7 separate regions of the Homo sapiens genome follow, and all the other regions are linked to region 3. The links are contacts of gene promoters, found by promoter capture Hi-C in blood cells and fetal thymus (Javierre and others, 2016). All regions are on one chromosome and are shown on one strand. The core of a region is centred on a gene start or on the middle of the fragment in contact, and the rest is flanking DNA. Distances in the headings are between cores, read along the strand shown.

The links. The method cuts DNA at HindIII sites, captures the fragments that hold promoters and counts their contacts. A CHiCAGO score of 5 or more calls a contact.
Region 1: a contact is called between a fragment that was not itself captured here and the fragment with the promoter of PTPN23 in region 3, in 2 of 17 cell types (megakaryocytes and neutrophils). The highest score is 6.3, in megakaryocytes.
Region 2: a contact is called between a fragment that was not itself captured here and the fragment with the promoter of PTPN23 in region 3, in 1 of 17 cell types (endothelial precursors). The highest score is 5.6, in endothelial precursors.
Region 4: a contact is called between a fragment that was not itself captured here and the fragment with the promoter of PTPN23 in region 3, in 1 of 17 cell types (megakaryocytes). The highest score is 5.8, in megakaryocytes.
Region 5: a fragment that was not itself captured here is called in contact with the fragment with the promoter of PTPN23 in region 3 in 2 of 17 cell types (neutrophils and endothelial precursors); the score reaches 6.3 in neutrophils.
Region 6: a contact is called between a fragment that was not itself captured here and the fragment with the promoter of PTPN23 in region 3, in 1 of 17 cell types (neutrophils). The highest score is 5.6, in neutrophils.
Region 7: a contact is called between a fragment that was not itself captured here and the fragment with the promoter of PTPN23 in region 3, in 2 of 17 cell types (neutrophils and erythroblasts). The highest score is 7.2, in neutrophils.

Annotation. Positions count from the first base shown.
Region 1 is chr3:47,036,687-47,039,386 of GRCh38, forward strand. SETD2 (SET domain containing 2, histone lysine methyltransferase) reads right to left here. Exons shown (of 21, transcript NM_014159.7): 18 at 980-1,091. Among named protein-coding and RNA genes, the nearest start is that of NBEAL2, 58 kb to the left of the region's middle. The HindIII fragment of the contact is 4,494 bases long and covers 1-2,700 here.
Region 2 is chr3:47,019,320-47,022,019 of GRCh38, forward strand. SETD2 (SET domain containing 2, histone lysine methyltransferase) reads right to left here. Exons shown (of 21, transcript NM_014159.7): 19 at 441-521. Among named protein-coding and RNA genes, the nearest start is that of NBEAL2, 41 kb to the left of the region's middle. RefSeq lists a silencer at 96-175. The HindIII fragment of the contact is 375 bases long and covers 1,255-1,629 here.
Region 3 is chr3:47,379,585-47,382,284 of GRCh38, forward strand. It overlaps PTPN23 (protein tyrosine phosphatase non-receptor type 23), which reads left to right and starts at 1,437. Exons shown (of 25, transcript NM_015466.4): 1 at 1,437-1,596. The coding sequence starts at 1,513. PTPN23-DT (PTPN23 divergent transcript) reads right to left here and starts at 1,908. Exons shown (of 1, transcript NR_185912.1): 1 at 1-1,908. RefSeq lists enhancers at 823-1,500, 1,010-1,069, 1,240-1,459, 1,501-2,176. The HindIII fragment of the contact is 8,365 bases long and covers 222-2,700 here.
Region 4 is chr3:47,064,905-47,067,604 of GRCh38, forward strand. SETD2 (SET domain containing 2, histone lysine methyltransferase) reads right to left here. Exons shown (of 21, transcript NM_014159.7): 13 at 2,166-2,214. Among named protein-coding and RNA genes, the nearest start is that of NBEAL2, 87 kb to the left of the region's middle. RefSeq lists an enhancer at 2,513-2,700. The HindIII fragment of the contact is 2,268 bases long and covers 167-2,434 here.
Region 5 is chr3:46,915,242-46,917,941 of GRCh38, forward strand. No RefSeq gene overlaps it. Among named protein-coding and RNA genes, the nearest start is that of PTH1R, 39 kb to the left of the region's middle. The HindIII fragment of the contact is 4,758 bases long and covers 1-2,700 here.
Region 6 is chr3:47,001,156-47,003,855 of GRCh38, forward strand. It overlaps NBEAL2 (neurobeachin like 2), which reads left to right. Exons shown (of 54, transcript NM_015175.3): 28 at 1-24; 29 at 124-283; 30 at 534-671; 31 at 765-1,133; 32 at 1,216-1,365; 33 at 1,490-1,647; 34 at 1,802-1,926; 35 at 2,019-2,154; 36 at 2,661-2,700. Among named protein-coding and RNA genes, the nearest start is that of NBEAL2, 23 kb to the left of the region's middle. The HindIII fragment of the contact is 5,454 bases long and covers 1-2,700 here.
Region 7 is chr3:46,940,036-46,942,735 of GRCh38, forward strand. It overlaps CCDC12 (coiled-coil domain containing 12), which reads right to left. Exons shown (of 7, transcript NM_001277074.2): 2 at 963-1,030. Among named protein-coding and RNA genes, the nearest start is that of CCDC12, 35 kb to the right of the region's middle. RefSeq lists enhancers at 1-263, 264-763. The HindIII fragment of the contact is 9,713 bases long and covers 1-2,700 here.

The DNA of each region.
Region 1 (2,700 bases), core at 165-2,664, 340 kb before region 3:
GTGGTCAGGAGTTCAAAACCAGCCTGGCCAACATGGTGAAACCCTGTCTCTACTACAAATACAAAAATTAGCCGGGCGTGGAGTGCACATCTGTAGTCCCAGCTACTCGGGAGGCTAAGGCAGGAGAATTGCTTGAACCCAGGAGGCAGAGGTTACAGTGAGCCGAGATTGTACCACTGCACTCCAGCCCGGGCAACAGAGTGAGACTCCGTCTCATTTAAAAAAAAAAGGCAAAGAGAACAAGAGAGGCCCTGAAGCGATCATAGTAATGGGTGTTTTGAACACCCATCACAATTCTTGGCCATATATCTCCCTCAAATGAGTAAGTAGTTAGTATGCATCTGAGTCTCTCAATGTCTAAAAAAGGCCATTCTTTTTTTTTTTTTTTTTTTTTTTTTTGAAAAGGGATTCAGGGTTGTAATGGGATTATTTTTTATATTTTTTTATTTTATTATTATTATACTTTAAGTTTTAGGGTAGATGTGCACAACGTGCAGGTTTGTTACATATGTATACATGTGCCATGTTGGTGTACTGCACCCATTAACTCGTCATTTAGCATTAGGTATATCTCCTAATGCTATCCCTCCCCCCTCCCCCCCACCCCACAACAGTCCCCAGAGTGTGATGTTCCCCTTCCTGTGTCCATGTGTTCTCGTTGTTCAATTCCCACCTATGAGTGAGAACGTGCGGTGTTTGGTTTTTTGTCCTTGCGATAGTTTGCTGAGAATGATGATTTCCAGTTTCATCCATGTCCCTACAAAGGACATGAACTCATCATTTTTTATGGCTGCATAGTATTCCATGGTGTATATGTAAAAAGGCCATTCTTTCTCCCTGACTTCATCTCTACACCTTGATACATGCATAGTCACTCACTTATTTTTCAGAATAAAGAAAAAAGAATCCCAAGACCATGCGGGATGGTCTTGGACGGACTCCCAAATGATCAGGAAATACATGTGTAAGCCACACTCACCTTCATGGGGTTTTCATCATATGTTGGAGTTCCCAGGTCCATCTCAGCTTCATGCTCAAGGCTGGCATCATCTCCTGGGCTTTCCCAAGTAGGAGGATCCCACTGAGTCTGCCTAGAAAGAGACAAAAACAGCCATGCTGTCAGGGCTAGGAAACAGAGAATCCTGACATAAACATCACTGCTCATACATACATAAAATACAACATACAATAAGACATAGAATAAGTCAGCTCCATGAGTTAAAGACAAACTTTTTCTATCTTCCTAACAGCAATGATTCTAGCACAGAGATATGCCCCTCTTCAATGACTGTATTTCTGTGGGCAATGATGTGGCAACACTGACTGGGTGTCAAAGAGAGCAGTAAACCCAAACATCCTGTCTGTCTCTCACCTGACTCTTAATGTCATGCAAATAAGACTGGGCAAAGCCTAAAATGTACAGGAAATAGGTCCCTGCCTATGTCACCCCTCTGTAGATGAAGAGGTAAACAGTGACTGTACCTAGCATATAAATGGAGCAAAATAAATCATGTAACACCTCTCACAGTCCTTGACCACGTGAGAAAATTATCCCTTGCTTTAGGAGTTTTCTTTTTAATAGTTCTGCCCCTCTGGTTTAATGACTGACAAGAAAAATACGTACAGGTTAAAAACTTGTACCCCTGGCCAGGCATGGTGGCTCATGCCTGTACTCCCAGCACTTTGGGAGGCTGAGGCAGGTGGATCACCTGAGGTCAGGAGTTCGAGACCAGCCTGGCCAACACGGTGAAACCCCATCTCTACTATAAATACAAAAAATTTGCCAGTCGTGGTGGCGGGCGCCTGTAATCCCAGCTACTCAGGAGGCTGAGTCAGTAGAATAACTTCAACCTGGGAGGCGGAGGTTGCAGTGAGCCAAGATCGTGCCATTGCACTCCAGCCTGGGCAACAAGAGTGAAACTCTGTCTTAAAAAACAAACAAAAAAAAAAACAAAAACTTGTACCCTCTGCTAAAAATATTCCCGACCGACTGCAAAAAGAAGGTTTCGGCCATGTTAACCCTTTAAATGTTTACAGTCATTTTGAAAATAAGCAAGCAAAGATTTTTCTTTTTTAAAAAAGATCTGTAGGATAAAAAGTGGAAGTAAGGATATTCACGTTCAGGAGTCTGAAGCCAGCTGTAACAGAGAATGTTATGAGGACAGTGACTTAAAATGTCAAAAGCCTCAAAGGATCTAACAAATCTGGCAGGTCAGTCTTGTCACTACAGTCTTCTGCTTTACCACCACATCAATCTTCAGTCAACAACATAACAACATTAAAGACACTTGATATAAATCAGTGTATATACATATATATAGACTATTGTAAAAATAGGCTTACCTCTGACCTATGGAACTCATTTATTTTAAAAGGCTCAAGATTTCTACCATAATAAAAGAACCACAAGCAGCTAAGGATGTTATTATAGAAACTGAACAAATATATACATGTCTGTTCTTAGCTACCAGATAAAGAAAACCTAGAAAAGATGGGAAAGGTACACATATAAATAAGAAATACAAACTTTTTTTTTTTTTTATTCTGATATGGAGTCTCGCTCTGTGACCCAGGCTGGAGTGCAATGGCGTGATCTCAGCTCACTGCAACCTCTGCCTCCTGGGTTCAAGTGATTCTCCTGCCTCAGCCTCCTGAGTAGCTGGGATTACAGGTGCGTGTCACCACGCCCAGCTAATTTTT
Region 2 (2,700 bases), core at 192-2,691, 360 kb before region 3:
GTCTTGCCTACCTCAAGGGCTGTTGTGGGGACAAAATGAGTCAATGGGTACTGAAGTGCTTAACCAGTTGAAAAAGGCCACACCTCTTTCACCAATGTGTCATTCACATAACAACTAAGTCAAATCACAGAAGCAAGAGGAATACCCAAAGACAAGGCAGCCTACCACTACAGACAGCTTTCTTTTGCCATAGATGCTACAGAAGGCCCACAGTCAAACAAGCAAATGTGGTCTGAGAGGGGCTCCTGTCAAGCCAAGAAAAGATGGCTGAGGAGTTTTCAGTGCTAAAAGAAGCACTTCAGCAAGACATACACACAAGGAACACCTTGTGTTCCTGCCTATCTTGGGGCAAAGGAGATATTCGACATACTTAGGACAAGAAATGAAAGGGTTCAGATTTAAGCCTGAGGAGCTTAGTGCTTATATCCACCAAACCTTACCTCTTTTCTGAATACTTCTTTGCTTTTCTTTGCTAGTTCACTGGAGGTGTCTGCTTCTGCTGTCTTGGGCTTTTTCGAGGCCTAAAAATGGAGGAGAAAACACAGTGGTGCTGGCATGAGAAGTCAGTTTAGTGATGCCCTACTGTCCCAGAACCCTCCTTTCTTTCCCCTAGCAGGGATACCTGATTCTTGGTATTAGAATCCGTTTAGAGGCCCTGACTCAGGTACAAGGCCTGGAGTCAACTTGGCTATTATGTTTCAAATCCTGTTACATGGTTTGGCTCTCCTTCTTATAAGTTAAGTTCCAATTCTCTACCCTAAGTCAAAGCTACAACTTTGATATAGCCACACATTTCAGAGTCACTCATGTCCCTGTTCTGGGTTCAGCTCCCTGAACTATCAAGCAAGGCCGGCACAAAACAAGCTCCATCTCTCCCACCTCTGACACTCTAGGATTCCAGGACAGAGGCGAAATGCTCTGTTCTGAAGACTCTTGAATACTCATCACCTTTCCTCCAAAGGTGGAGTTGGCTAGACTGTAGAAGACAGTCTCAGTATGCAAGAGAGGCTCCTTGGAGGTTGGTACCTTCAGTTTAGGAACAGAAAGATTAAGGAAGTATCACGATATTGACGGGGAGGTGATGAAGGTCATCAAAGCCAGTGAACAGATAAGTAGATGATGACACAGAAGATACTCTATGTCCCCAGCTGGCAAGATAATGACAAACCCAGGAACATTCCCTTCCAGCACTGCTAGAGGGAGGCTTCCAAGTTCCCTCTAACTAGGTACTGCACCAGGAGGCGATGAGTTGGAAGCTTTGGTATTCAGAGCACCTGTCATGCAGGCCATCTCCCCATACCTTTGCCCACCACTAGCCATCAGGCCCCTTCCCAGTAAATGTGCTTTTCCACGGAAAATAATAATTATGAGCATTCCCCTCCAAATATAAGTTACTTCATAATGGATCTAGAAGCTGGAGTTGATATTATAGGTACTTCACACTTTTTTGTTAGGGGCACAGGGTAGAATAATTTTCCTGCTCCCCACCCATCTCCTGGTTCTGCTTCTTCCATTTCCATAAACAGTATGAAGGCTCTGGTTCTAAAGCAGCTGGACTAGCTCCAGAGAAAGGTGGCACTCCCTTGGCTTTAGGCTGTTACAAATCAACTTTCTCTGCTGTGTCATAAAAGCTTTACGTATTTTCTATTTTTCCAATTTCTTCATGTAGCTGTATGGGGAGATTAGGGGGTAGAGTAAAAAGAATATAAAGATCCAATTTGTTTTTTAAGAAAACAAAACTAAGCAAAAATAATGCTAATAATATAAGTTAAGTCTATTTTCAAGTGTTTTGCTTTGGGATTTTGTTATTTTTTTTCCCCCAGTTGTAGATGGTATGAGTATGCTCCACAGTAAGACCTTAGGTAGCAAGGGATCAAGAATTATTTGAGTAAGTCAAGAAAACTTCAACACATCCCCAGCTACTCTCTTGTAGCTCTCAGAAGTCAGCAGCAACAGAAATGAGTACAGAAAGCCCCTTCAGGTCTGGGTATCTCAAAGATCTGGGTCCTATAGAAGAGGCCATGCTCTCAGCGAGGGTACTATGTAAATAGAAATGTCCTGTTTCACTCTGGATAGGGTATGCACTCACAAAGCTAAATGAACCCAAAGCACTTTTAATAGATTTATAATTTAATCCCTGACTTGATGAGGTTGGCGGGGGATTGGTGGGGGGTGGCCTTTAAAAACACAATTATAGAATACAATCCACTGAGCTCTGTCTAGGAGCTTTCTTGGTCCTCCTGAGTGCTGAGCAATTGGGATCGAGAAAGGAAATGATAAAATGAGGGGTCCCCAGACTTACATCATGGAAATCATGAACCAAAATGGAATACTCTTGAGAGTACTGAAATTCATGAAACCCTCTCTTCATGGTCTGTGATTTGCAAATGGCATGGGAAATAATTTCAGAAACTGGCTAACATTTACTCAAATCTAATGCCAGGCAAAGTAACCAGAGTCTGAGTTGAGGACAGCACTTGTTATTGACATGAACAACCTTAGGACCCCCCACTCCAAAAAAGTCCCATTTAAAAATTTAGCAGGTAAGGCTGGGTGTGGTGGCTCACGCCTGTAATCCTAGCACTTTGGGAGGCGGAGGAGGGCGGATCACGAGGTCAAGAGATCAAGACCATCCTGGCCAACATGGTGAAACCTCGTCTCTACTAAAAATACAAAAATTAGCTGGGCGTGGTGGCGCGT
Region 3 (2,700 bases), core at 187-2,686:
GGTCTTGAACTCCCGGGCTTAAGCGATCCGCCCGCCTCGGCCTCCCAAAGTGATGGGATTACAAGCGTGAACCACCGCACCCGGCATCGTGGTCTCCACATTTCATCCAGAACGAGTCAAAGGCCTTGACCTCGAGCTTAACACGGACCTGAACCTTTGCTCTTCCCTTGTTTTCCCTTATCAGTAAACAGCCCCACAGCCACCCACCTGCACAAGCCAGAAGCTTGGAAATCATATTCGACGTCCTCATGCCCTTACATCCATCCATTCCAAGTTCTGATACTTTTGTCTCCAAAATATTCCTCAAATATTTCTCAAAGTGGGCAAAATATTTCTTTGCTCACTTTTTACTTCCCTCTGCTCCAAGCCACAATCACCTGTCTCCTGGAAGACTACAAAAGGCTCACTGATCTCCCAGCTCGCACTTTTGCACTCACTATCTCCAGGCCATTCTCTGTTATTTCTATTGTTACTATTATTATTTTGAGACGGAGTCTCGCTCTGTCGCTCAGGCTGGAGAGCAGTGGCAAGATCTAGGCTCACCGCAATCTCCGCCTCCCAGGTCAAGCGATTGAACCTCCAGCCTCAGCCTCCCGAGTAGCCTATTATTTATTTCTAAAAGTAGGTGATACAGCCATATGATTTAACAATTCCTGCTCTATAGGTCCCCTCTCCAGAGGCAACAGGTGCTCTCCATTCCGTGGTCTCCTTCCAGATACTGTGGGCGTCCCTGGGTGCTCACCTGGCCGTATACCTTCCCCCACCCACTTCCCCACAGGGCCCGGGGCCTCCTCACTCCGCTTGAGACCCTCCATCCAGGCGCTCCCTCCCTATCGTCCGTCTCCCTTGGGCACTGCCCGGCCTCCCAGGCTGGGCTGAGTAGGCCAGTCTCCGGTCAGTGATTCTGTTCCAAAGCTCGAAAGCCTTCGCAGCACTGGGACTGAAACCCCCAGCTCTCAGCCCCGACTCCTTCAGGCCAGGTGCTCCCTCCGCACCCTCTCTAAGGCCCGTTTTCGCGTCATCTCTTTCCAGCGGCCCGCCCGCCACGTCATCTCTACCACAGCACCAGTCCTCCACGGCTCTTGACAATACGTGGGAGGGCAAGTTCATAGGTGAGGTCTCATGCTCTTCCTAGGAGGGAGGAGCGCGGCGGGCGGGACCCGCAGCTGGGCTTGGCCCGGGAGCGGGGAATAAGCTCGCTCCGCGCCTCTCAGTTTAGTGGATGAAGACTACTATCCCAGAAGCCGTTTCGCCTCGGGCTGGCGAGCTCCTCCCCGCCCTACTCCCTCCGCGCGAAGAAGACTGAGCATGCGCAACAGGGACAGCGCCTGCGCAAAAGACTACGCGAGCGGGTGGCTGGGTTCACTGCAACTCCCGGCAGGCCGCTGGCATTTTTCATTCCCTCCCGTGACCAGTGACTTCCGGCACGAAGGGGCGGGGCTGGGCTCGTGGCTGAGCCAGCAGCTGCAGCAGCTACGGGAGTGGCCGGGTGGCCGGCGGGTGCCAGCCGCCATGGAGGCCGTGCCCCGCATGCCCATGATCTGGCTGGACCTGAAGGAGGCCGGTGACTTTCACTTCCAGCCAGCTGTGAAGAAGGTGAGCTTGCCTTCCATCTTCCCCCCTATCCGCCGCGTATCTCCGTCGTCTGCAAGCGCGTGACGCCCCCCTGCGCGCCCATCACCTCCTCAGGCCCGGTCGCAGGGTCCGGTGAGGCCAGGAGGGGCCTTCGCCGGTTTTCCTCAGCCTGTCCCACACCCCGGCGCCCGCAGGCCATTCTTCTCCTCCCCGATAGCCCCGTGCTAGCACCTGCATCTTCATCTGAACCCGGTTCCCGACTTCTGCCCCGAGTCATCCGCTGTTCCCACTGAGGCAGCACACTTCCTCCTTCTGACGCTCGGACCCAGTTCTGCCCCGCCCCTCCTCCATGCCAGGACCGCCCCGCGCGGGAGCGGTGGGCGGCCCTGACCGTGCGGATTCTTTTGCTGCGCCCGGCCCTCGGTGCGCTGTCAAGTCCACGCCCGCCTGGGACAGACACTGGGGATGGCTCAGGGGCGTGTGTTTAAGACGTGAGCCCCGGTGGCCCAGGGAGATGCCCGACCCCTGCGGTGAGGGTTTGTTTTACAATTGCTGCGATTCTGTATGGTCTCCCATTCGGGAGTCTCTTTGGACCAAACAATACAATCCCACGACATTTTTAGGAGGGTTACTGCTTTTCGTAACCGACTGGAGGGCATAAACAGTGTTGTAGAGCTCAGAGAAATCTTACTGTGTTGGAAGAACAGACGGGCAGGTTTGGCGTTGACTAAGGCAAGGAACTTCTGTGGAGAGGTTCAGGTGTGGTGATTGAACACAGGTGCCCTCCGAGACATCCGCTGTATTGGTAGCACTGAGGGCTAGAGCAGAAATGAAAAGGAACAACCAGGAGGCCGTCGCAGGTGGGGGGCCTTGTGGGCTTAGCACAGCAGATGCCAGAGTAAGCCCCAATCTAGATGGTGCACCACTTAGCGAGACGCTTGGGAAGACAAATAGGAAAAAGAAAATGGGTTTGGAAGTAGTTTCCCAAGAAGCTGTCTCCCCTCTAATCGCCATACACCATTGCCTTAGTTCAGACAGTGTTTGAGTCCATCATCTAGCCTCTTGGGGCCAGGAAATGAGGGTAATTGATCCAAAATTCTAGAATTTTGTTAACGGTTATCCAGA
Region 4 (2,700 bases), core at 51-2,550, 310 kb before region 3:
GGTCGGCAGAAAAGAGGCTACTCCCTGAAAAGATATAGTTGTTCATTACAGATCATCCTCTGCATCTCATGGATGCAAAATATTTCTCCACAATAATTTGCAAATATCTAGCCACACCAGACTAGATATTTACAAAATATTATGGAGAAACGCTCATAGGTATTTAAGCTTTGCTTGTGTGCTACTAATAGTTTTAACTCAGTGATCCCAGAAAGCTAGCTTCTGATAATCAACCCTATAGTGGTGCCACTGGTTTTGCCAACCACTATTGCCCAGTCCTGCCTTCTTTTTTATAGGAAGAGTTATTTGCAGCCCTAAGTAGAATGTGAGGCTATGAAGAGACTAAACCAGAGAGTGGAACTAAAAATATTCGAAAGACAAACAATGGTGCAAAGGTTATCTCACAGGTCTTTAACCAATAAGACTAAGATTATATAAAAAGTTATGCACACCAAAAATAAAAAGACAAAAAAAAAAAATCACACTGGCTTCTTCATTCTACTTTTAGTGGGTCAGTGGTGGAGGTACTCATGAAACCAATAACCACCATAAGTGACCCTATTCCTTGAATCTCTAAGTAAGTGTGCTGGAAGAAAGGAAGGAAATTCTTAAGGCTGGGCATAGTGGCTTACATCTGTGATCCCAGCACTTTGGGAGGTGGAAACAGGAGCACTTAAGGACAAGAGTTCAAGCCTAGCCTGGGTAACATAGCGAGACTCTGTCTCTACAAAAAATAAATAAATAAATAAATAACCAGGCATGGTGGCACACACCTATAGTCTCAGCTACTCAAGAGGCTGAGGCAAGAGGATTGCCTGAGCCCAGGAGTTCAAGGCTGCAGTGAGAGCTATGATGGTGTCACTGTGCTCAGCCTGCATGACAGAATAAGACACTGTCTCTAAAAAATAAATCAATAAATAAGTTTGTTGGAAATGTAACTAAGTGGTAAAGTCCAGAAACCAGATTCCCATGGCCTCCCTGCTATCCATTCTGAAACAATGATTCTAACTTTTTCAGGGGTGACTGAGAATCTGATCAAAGTTTTGAACTTGCCTCAGAAAAGTAAATACAGTCAACCCTTGAACAACATGAGTTTGAACTGGATGAAAGTCCACTTATATGTGGATTTTCTTCTAACTGTGCCACCCAAGACAGCAAGACTAATCCCTCTTCTTCCTCGTCAGTCTGCTCAAGGTGAAGATAAGGATGAAGACCTCTATGATGATCTATTTCCACTTAATGAAGAGTAAATATATTTTCTCTTATGATTTTCTTAATAACATTTTTATCTAGCTTACTTTATTTTAAGAATACAGTTACATAATACACATAACATACATAATATGAGGAGTCAAAAGTTATGTGGAATTTCGACGCACAGGGTATCTGTATCTCCTATGTTGTTCAAGGGTCAACTGTGTACATACAGAATTTTACATGTAAACATCTTTTTTCCTTTTAGAGACAGGGCCTCACTTTGTTGCTCAGGCTGGAGTACAGTGGCACGATCATGGCTCACTGCAGCCTCAATCTCCTAGGCTCAGGTGATCCTCCTACCTCAGCCTCCTGGTAATTAGGATTATAGGCACACACCACCACACTTAGCTAATATTTTTGTATTTTTTGTAGAGACAGGGTTTCACCATGTTTCCCAGGCTGGTCTCAAACTCTTGGGCTCAAGCAATCCACCTGCTTCAACTTCCCAAAGTGCTAGGATTACAGGTGTGAGCCACCCTGCCCAGCTGCATATAAATATCTTGAGGTAAAGACCCTCCCAAAGACATCTAGAAGTATAGGTTTAAGAATGTCTGCTCTATCTGGTGCGAAGGAAAAAAAAAATCAAAATCACAATAATAAAAGAAAAAAAGACTAAATAAAAAAAATAAAGAATGTCTGCTCTAGAGGACAAACGAATAGAAAAAAAGCTAGTAAAGACTGAGTTCAAGGAAAGCGACAACAAAACAGTGTAAGAGACATTTCCTTTGGCAAAATGCATTAAGAATAAAAGCACAAGTTTCCAAACTTTTACACCAAATATTTCATTTACCTAGTTATATATTCTCTAGTTTCAAAAACAAAAACGCTTAAGTTCTTATCAGTTACCTCTGCACATAACAAAAGAATATTTGTAAAGCCATCAACACAGAGTATCTCTGAATACCTACTTGTGTTTTCCTTTTCAGTTTGACTTTTCTTTGGAATTCGATATACCTCCTGCAAAAAATAAACCAGAGGGAGGGTTATTAGTGAGGGTGGAAATGGTGATTGCTTTGAAACTGACTGTTTTCACATGACAATAAAGAAATGGAAAGTAACAAGCTGGTACTTATTCTCTAAAATTTGACTTATATCTGGGCTTTAAATAAGAATATATCCTGGCCCCTTAAAAACAAGAAAAAATATATAGCAGAAATACATATATTTACATCTATCAAGCTTGTACGATCTCACTAGCAAAGCAGCATACTAAATGACTGGGCAAGGATACGCTTCCTGAGCATCTTTTTTTTTTTTTTTTTTTTTTTTTTGAGACAAGGTCTTGCTCTGTCACCCAGGCTGAAGGGCAGTGGCATGATCTCGGCTCACTGCAACCTCTGCCTCCCAGGCACAAGCAATCCTTCTGCCCCAGCCTCCCAAGTAGCTGGGACCACAGGTGGATGCCACCATGCCCCGCTAATTTTTTCTATTTTTGTAGAGATG
Region 5 (2,700 bases), core at 130-2,629, 460 kb before region 3:
TTATCTCAAAGGGCCCCACTCCAGAGCTAACTACAAGCCTGAAGTTGACGATCACCACCTTGCTCTTCTGCCCTGGCCTTACCACCTGCGTGTGTCCTTACATTGTCTCACTCCGCCTGTTTGGAACGTCACACAAATGGCTCATACTCTATTTCTTCCGTGACTTGCTTCTTTCAACATCTATCCATTTGTTGCACATGACTGTAGCTCTTCTCACAGCTATGGAACATCACACTTTCAGAATGACAACTTATTATTACCACATTCTGGCTTTGATTTAGTGTGTGTGTGCACACATGTGCCCGTGCTATTACAAACAATGCTTCTACAAGCATTTCTGTCCCTGTCTCCTGGTGTACATGTGCAAGTTTTCTAGTGCACTAAGAGCGCAACTGATGGGTCCCAGCGTGCACATGTTCAACTTTCCCAACGTGGTTACACATTTCACACTCTTATGGCTGTGGGTGAGAGGTCCCACTGCTCCACAGTACAGTGGTGTAGCTAATGACACTTCTGAAAGTCTCCCTTGCCTGGCCTCACTCCTGCCACCTCCACTTTCTTTTGTTGATCCTGTGCTTGATAGAGCTTTTCTAGTCCCATTAATCTTTGTTTCTATTAATTTATGAGGCAGGGTCTCACTCTGTCGCTCAGAACTCCCAGGCTCACATGATCTCCCACCTCAGCCTCCCAAGTAGCTGCGACTACAGGCAGGCACCACCCCGCCTGGCTAATTTTTTTATTTTTTATTTTTGTAGAAGACGGAGTTTCACCATTTTGCCCAGACTGGTCTTGAACTCCTGGGCTCAAGCAATCTGCCTGAGACTCGAGCAAATTCAGCCTTCTCAAGTGCTGGGATTACAGGCATGAGCCACTGCACCCAGTCGGCTTCAGGTTTTTTTAAACTCAGCAAACTGAGTTTAAAGGAAAAAAAAAAAGAAAGAAAAGCAGTCTAATACCTTGCTATTACTGATATATCTGGATTCAACTACTCAATCCACCTTTTCTCTCTGCTTTCTTTTGGATAGTTACTTTTTTCCCATTCTGGTTTTTTTTTTTTTTTTTCCTCTCTCATCTCCTCTGAAAGTGGTACACTCTGTTTCTACTCTTTTCAGGTTACCCCAGAAATGTCAAGAGGCCTGTTTCCTAGTCTTATCCCTCTTCCTAAGTGAGCGTCTTCAAGGACTGTAACCCCAACCACCTCCTACCTCTGAACTTACATACCATTGTTGTTATGTATTCTAAATAGCCCCTGCTTTACCCCACAACACATTTTTGTTTTACAAGGTCAGTGCTTATTTACATTTATACTTCCTTTCTCTGGACTTTCCATCTGGGATTGTGCCCCTCAGTCTGAAAATATCCTTTATGATTTTTTTAAAAGGAGAATGCTTATTTCATTTTTAAAAAACAACTTTATACATATACAGCCCACCCATTAAAGTGTACAATTCAATGGCTCTTGGCATATTCAGCATATTCACAGATTTGTGCAACCACAATCACTTTTAGAACATTTTCATTACCCCAAAATAGATTTTCATTTAGTGAGAGTCTGCTGGTGACAGAATCCCTGACTTCGTTGGTCTAAAAACATCTTAGGCCAGGTGCGGTGGCTCAGGCCTGTAATCCCAGCACTTTGGGAGGCCAAGGTGGGCAGATCACTTGAGTTCAGGAGTTCAAGATCAGCCTGGGCAAAATAGTGAGACCCCATCTCTGCAAAAAAACAAAAAACACGTCTCATATTTTCCCTGAGTATGCAATTCTAGGATGACAACTTTCTTTCATTCCTGTTTACACTGGTTATAGCTGAGATATCTGCTGCTATGTTGCTCCTCAAAAGGTAGTATGTCCTTTCTCTCTGATTTTAAGGTATTTTCTTGGTCTTTGTGCTCTTTAATGTTATTACAATGTGATTAGGTATGTGGTAGTTTTTAAATAAGTCCACAAATTCTTACACAGTCCTCCCTTCAGGAAGTGGAAGCTAATTCTTCTAAGTGTCGACTGGGCGTAGTGACTTGCTTCTAACAAACAGAATGTAGCAGAATATCACTTCCAAGCCCAGATCATAAGAAAGCCCCACAACGCTCCCTCCTGCCTTCTTTCTTAGACTGCCACTCTGGGAAAGCCACCTGCCATGTCTTGAGAACACACAGGCCGATGGAGAGGTCCATGTGGCAAGACACAGGGGCCACCAATCAACAGCCCCATGAGTCATCTTGGAAACAGATCCTCCAGCCCCAGTCCAGCCTTCAGATGAGTGCAGCTTCACAACTGACCCCAAGCTAGACTTACCCAGCTAAGCCACTCCTGATTCCTGGCCCACAGAAACTGAGGTAATAAGTGTTTGTTATTTTAAGCCCCCGAGTTTTGGGTAATTTATGTGTAGCAACTGATGATTAATAAAAAGTGTAGAATTTTTTTAAGTAAATTTGCTTACTTAGAATAAACATACAAAAAGGGCATAAAACATGTATACAGTTCAATGAATATTCATAAAGTAAAAATACCTAATCATCACCCAGATGAAGAAACAGAACATTTGGATGTATAGTTCTTCCTATTAACCTGCCTGAGACTTACTGGTCTTCTTGAATCTGTGAATTGGTGATTTTTTCTGGAAAGTTCTCAGCCAGTTTTTAAATATTGCTTCTGCCTCATTTTCATTTTTTTTTTTTCCCACCTGGAACTCCGTCACTTTAC
Region 6 (2,700 bases), core at 56-2,555, 380 kb before region 3:
CCCACCAGACTGCATCAAGCGCAGGTGAGAGGGAAAGTCTGGAGGGGGAGGGGCTTCAGGAAGCCTCGGGGGAAGGAGAGAAGATAGTCAGGTAGACCCTTGAGTTCCCCACTCACCCGCCAGCCTCCTGGAGATGATGCTGGAGTCAGCCCTGACCGACATCAAAGAGGCCCCCGTGGGGGTCCTGGCCAGCCTCACCCAGCAAGCGCTTTGGCTGCTGCGTCTGCTGCAGGACTTCCTGTGTGCTGAAGGCCATGGTAACCAGGAACTGTGGAGTGAGAAGGTGCGACCCCTCAGAGAGGCGTGAGCCACATGAACACTCATGTTCATGCAAGCCTGCAGGGATCTGGTCTGGGAGGTGGATGGGTACACGTGCGCAGGTGTGGGTGCATCAGCATGAATGCCTGTGAGTGTGGACTTGCCTGTGTGCACAAACCCTACCTGGCCCCCAGCGCAAACTTTACTTTGCTCCCTTTCCATGGACTCCTGGCCTCCCCTGGTGATGTCTGTTGGGAACCTGTTTTCTGTGGCAGCTCTTTGAAGGTGTATGCAGCCTACTTGATCGCCTGGGAGCCTGGCCCCACCTGGCCAACGGCACAGCTGATCTCCGTGAGATGGCGCAGATTGGCCTACGGCTTGTACTTGGCTACATCCTGCTGGAAGACCCACAGGTGAGCACAGGGTGAGCATGGGGGCAGGGGGCGTGTGAGATGTCGGGAGCTCCAAGAGTGGCTGGGTGCCACTCATCTCTCTTGCGCCCACAGCTGCATGCCCAGGCCTACGTGAGATTGCACATGCTGCTACAGACTGCAGTGCCAGCCCGCCGCGAGGAGGCCTGCTATGTGCTCTCCAAGCTGGAGGCTGCACTGGGGCGGGTGCTGAACACCTCTTCCTTGGAGTCAGCCACTGATGAGGCAGGGTCCCCACTTGCAGCTGCAGCAGCTGCAGCAGCTGCAGAGCGCTGCTCCTGGCTGGTGCCACTGGTGCGCACGCTGCTAGACCGTGCCTATGAGCCGCTGGGGCTGCAGTGGGGACTGCCCTCCCTGCCACCCACCAATGGCAGCCCCACCTTCTTTGAAGACTTCCAGGCTTTTTGTGCCACACCCGAATGGCGCCACTTCATCGACAAACAGGTGCCTGGAGGTTGGGGCCCAGGAAGAGGAGTGGGGGCTGGGGCCCACATCGAGCACTGTTCTCCTCTGCCCAATCCTCCAGGTACAGCCAACCATGTCCCAGTTCGAAATGGACACGTATGCTAAGAGCCACGACCTTATGTCAGGTTTCTGGAATGCCTGCTATGACATGCTTATGAGCAGTGGGCAGCGGCGCCAGTGGGAGCGCGCCCAGAGTCGTCGGGCCTTCCAGGTGTGCCACCCGGGGTAAGGGATGGGAAACTGCTCCACACATGCACCCAGGAGATGACTGACAATGTGGAGAAACGGGTAGGGCAGGCAGCAGCCAGGGGACTGACCTATTACCCCCACCCCAGGAGCTGGTGCTGGAACCTGCGCAGAGGCGGGCGCGCCTGGAGGGGCTACGCTACACGGCAGTGCTGAAGCAGCAGGCAACGCAGCACTCCATGGCCCTGCTGCACTGGGGGGCGCTGTGGCGCCAGCTCGCCAGCCCATGTGGGGCCTGGGCGCTGAGGTGGGCCGGGCTTGGGGCAGGGTCGCTGTGGAGGGGTGGGGCTTGGGAGGGAGGGAGCCACCTGGAGCCCCAGACTGCCTTTGGGGTGAGGCCAGGGAGGGATGGGGGTGTCTACAGCCTTCTACCGACCCATGACCTGGGGGACATTCTGCAGGGACACTCCCATCCCCCGCTGGAAACTGTCCAGCGCCGAGACATATTCACGCATGCGTCTGAAGCTGGTGCCCAACCATCACTTCGACCCTCACCTGGAAGCCAGCGCTCTCCGAGACAATCTGGGTGAGGGAGTGTGCTGAGATGGGTCCACCCAACTCGATTGTCCCGTCTCCTGTCCTGCCTTGCTTCTGCTGAGTACCCTTGGCCCCTTGCAGGTGAGGTTCCCCTGACACCCACCGAGGAGGCCTCACTGCCTCTGGCAGTGACCAAAGAGGCCAAAGTGAGCACCCCACCCGAGTTGCTGCAGGAGGACCAGCTCGGCGAGGACGAGCTGGCTGAGCTGGAGACCCCGTGAGTGGGGCCCTGGAGAGATTGGACTGGTGTGGTGGGCAAGGGGTCTGCTCCAGTGTGTGCATGCCTCTGTGGGATCAACTCCCTGAGTGTGTCCTCTTCTGCTGCCCGACTACGTCCCCCTGAAGGGACTGTCCAAAGCCAGATGGTGAGTGGGAGAGTCTCCTAACAGGGCTGAGAGTTGCTCTTTTAACAGCCAGGCACCTGAGGACAGCACTGAGAAACACAAACCAGAGCAGGAAGGGGGCCCAGGGAGTGGGCAGGGGCTGGGTGAGGGGAGCAGGGGACAAGGGTTGGCATCCTGGCAAAATATTCAGAAGCCCAGTGGGTGGCAGGTGGGGGACAGGGGCTGGGACCAGTAGGTTCTGGACCCTAGGCAGCCCCTCCCCATCTCTGGGAGTCATGAGAGTATATACCCCATGACTCAATGGCACTTGGATGCCCTTTGGGCTTGTGAAGAAGGGGGTCCCAGAGCCTACAGCGTGAGGTGGGTTGCTGGTCTTTAGGATGGAGGCAGCAGAACTGGATGAGCAGCGTGAGAAGCTG
Region 7 (2,700 bases), core at 189-2,688, 440 kb before region 3:
GTCCAGAAAGACACACAGTCTGGCCCCAGGAAGAGAGCCCCATCTCAGGGCTAGGCATGGGAGGGAGGACATGAGACCTCTGGAACTGCTGACACGGGAGTGGTAGTCAGACACTCTGCTCACAAAGATCAGCAGCACAGCTTTGCCTCGCTCACCCCACACACTGGTTCCGGCAACAGTTTCCAGGCTCCAGATTTTTGGGAGGCAAAGCAGCATCTGAGGCTCTGTGGAGGTTGCAGCCCTCAAGACTGCGGGGGAAGACCTTGTGCCTGCAATCACGAGGGAAGTGTACCCAAGACCCTCACGTGTGCTGTGTTTAGGCAACTTAAGTGGACCCAACCAGATGAGAGTATTCGACAAAATAAGATAAATACTACAGAGGGAAATGAAGCCAGAGGGACACAGACAACGAGAAAGGCGCCCTTTGAGCTGAACTCTATGTGAAGACCCAGACATCAAAGGTATAGGAGAGATGAGAAGGACCTCCAGGCTGAGAGGACGGACAAAAGACTGGTCAGGAAATGCTGAGTGGCCAGAGGTGGCAAGGGCCGACCACAAAGGGCTCTGGCTAGAGGGAAACCAGAGGAGGTTGGATGAGGCTAGATGGTCCAGGCAGAGCTTCACATGCCAAGTGCAGAAGGGGCACTTACTCAGTAGGCAATGGAGAACCACGCCACAAAAGGTGTATGAGAAGGGTAAAAAGGCATAATGTAAGGGCTAGAAAGAAAATGCTGGGGGCTGAGTAACAGCCAAATGGAAAATGAGGGAAAGGAGGCAGAGAAGGCCTCGACAAGGGCCTTCTGAGATGTTGAGATTTTAAGGTCTGAACAGGACAGCCATGGGCAGAAAGAAGAGGGGAGGGAACAGGGCAGACACTGAACAGAGTTGGGAGGACCCAGAGACTGGGAGACCGATGAGTGCTGGAGGAGAGAGCAGACCCTGGAGCTGCACACGGGCATTACCTGTGCTTCTCGCCTTCTTCCTCCTCTTCTCTGAGATGCTTGGTCTTTGGCTCCCCATCTTCCTTGTCCTGCAAAGAAAGGGAGAAAACCACCAGCTCAGTTGAAAGCTCCTACTTCCAGTCCACGTGGCCCAGGGAGCTAAAGAACAGGACATCTCAGAAGGGGGGCACCTGGCAGGGCCCAGCTTGGTGTCCCAGACTCCAACAGGGTACACGCCTGCTGCATCTCATAGGCACAACTGGAGCCTCATTGCCTGTGCAGAATTTAAAAATCCATAACTCTTGGCTGGGCGCGGTGGCTCATGCCTGTAATCCCAGCACTTCAGGAGGCCGAGGTGGGCGGATCTCGAGGTCAGGAGATCGCAACCATCCTGGCTAACACGGCGAAACCCCATCTCTACTAAAAACACACAAAAAAATTAGCTGGGCGTGGTAGTGGGCGCCTGTAGTCCCAGCTATTCGGGAGGCTGAGGCAGGAGAATGGCGTGAACCTGGGAGGCAGAGCTTGCAGTGAGCCGAGATCAAGCCACTGCACTCCAGCCTGGGCGACAGAGCGAGACTCCATCTCAAAAAAAAAAAAAAGCAACAAAAAAAGTCCGTAACTCCAGCCCAGTCCCAGGTACCTGGTAGCCCTTAGAGAACACTCACAGAAAGAGCTGGATGGCTTTAGGTGGTGAGAAATGCAGCCACTTGGTGCCATGGAGGGGCCATGCTGGCAGGCCAGCAGTCACCTTCATGGGTCTAGACAGAACCACCTGCTAAGCTAGGAAAGACTGGGGAAAGAAGTTACCAGCAACCAGGGCAGGATGAGAGCTCAGGCCTCCTGAGACACCTTTCAGGCCAGAGTCCTCTCCAGAAATACCTATTTGATTCGCTTTAGAAGTAACATGAACTAGGACCAGGCTTGCAACAAGATTCACTGCCTAGGCCTATGCTATATTCAGGGAGACAGAGGCAAGGGGAATTAGTCTGAAGTTTCCATGAAAATTTTCTTAATCTGGTTCTTTTGACTTCCCACCAACTGCACCTCTTTTTGAAGTCTACAGAGTCATGTTCATCTCAACCTTGACATGTTATGCTTGTTCTCAGGTGCACTGGGGGCCACAACAGAAGGAAACTGCCATACTGCTTCCACCTGAAGCAGAAAATGTCTTCCTGGACTTTATCCTTTATTATGTGATTACCTCTGTTAGGTCAGCCTGCCTGTGGACAAACTGACGCAGGGCGTGTGTGCACATGCACAAATTCGTGTGACCACACCTGGGGCCCAGGGCATGGACTGAGAGGCCCCAAGACAGAGCTGTCGTGGGTCTCCCTGCATGCCAGGGTTGGCACTCCAGAAGGTGACAATGCTCACTTCACTATGGCAGCGTCCTGCCTTTGACTCTCGCAGAGCAGTGTTCTAAGAGAGATCTGTGAGCTCCTTCCATTGGGAGCCTGCTCTGGTGGACACAGAATGCGCTGGAGCCTGCATATAAATTATAAGTAAAACAGCTACTTGAACTACCTTTCCTAGACATTTATTTATGCCATTGACAACTGCCTTCCTAAGAATGGTATCTGCTTTATGTGGAGACTGCAGGCATCAACCAGACCCTGCCATTCCTTGGCCACACAACCTCCGGGGAGCAGACTACCAAAACCAGGTCGGAGGCCTGGCCCAGAGAAAGGCTTCTGTCATGAGAACAGATCAACATGCCCCCCACCCCAACTCAGGGCAGCTCATCTCATGGCAACGA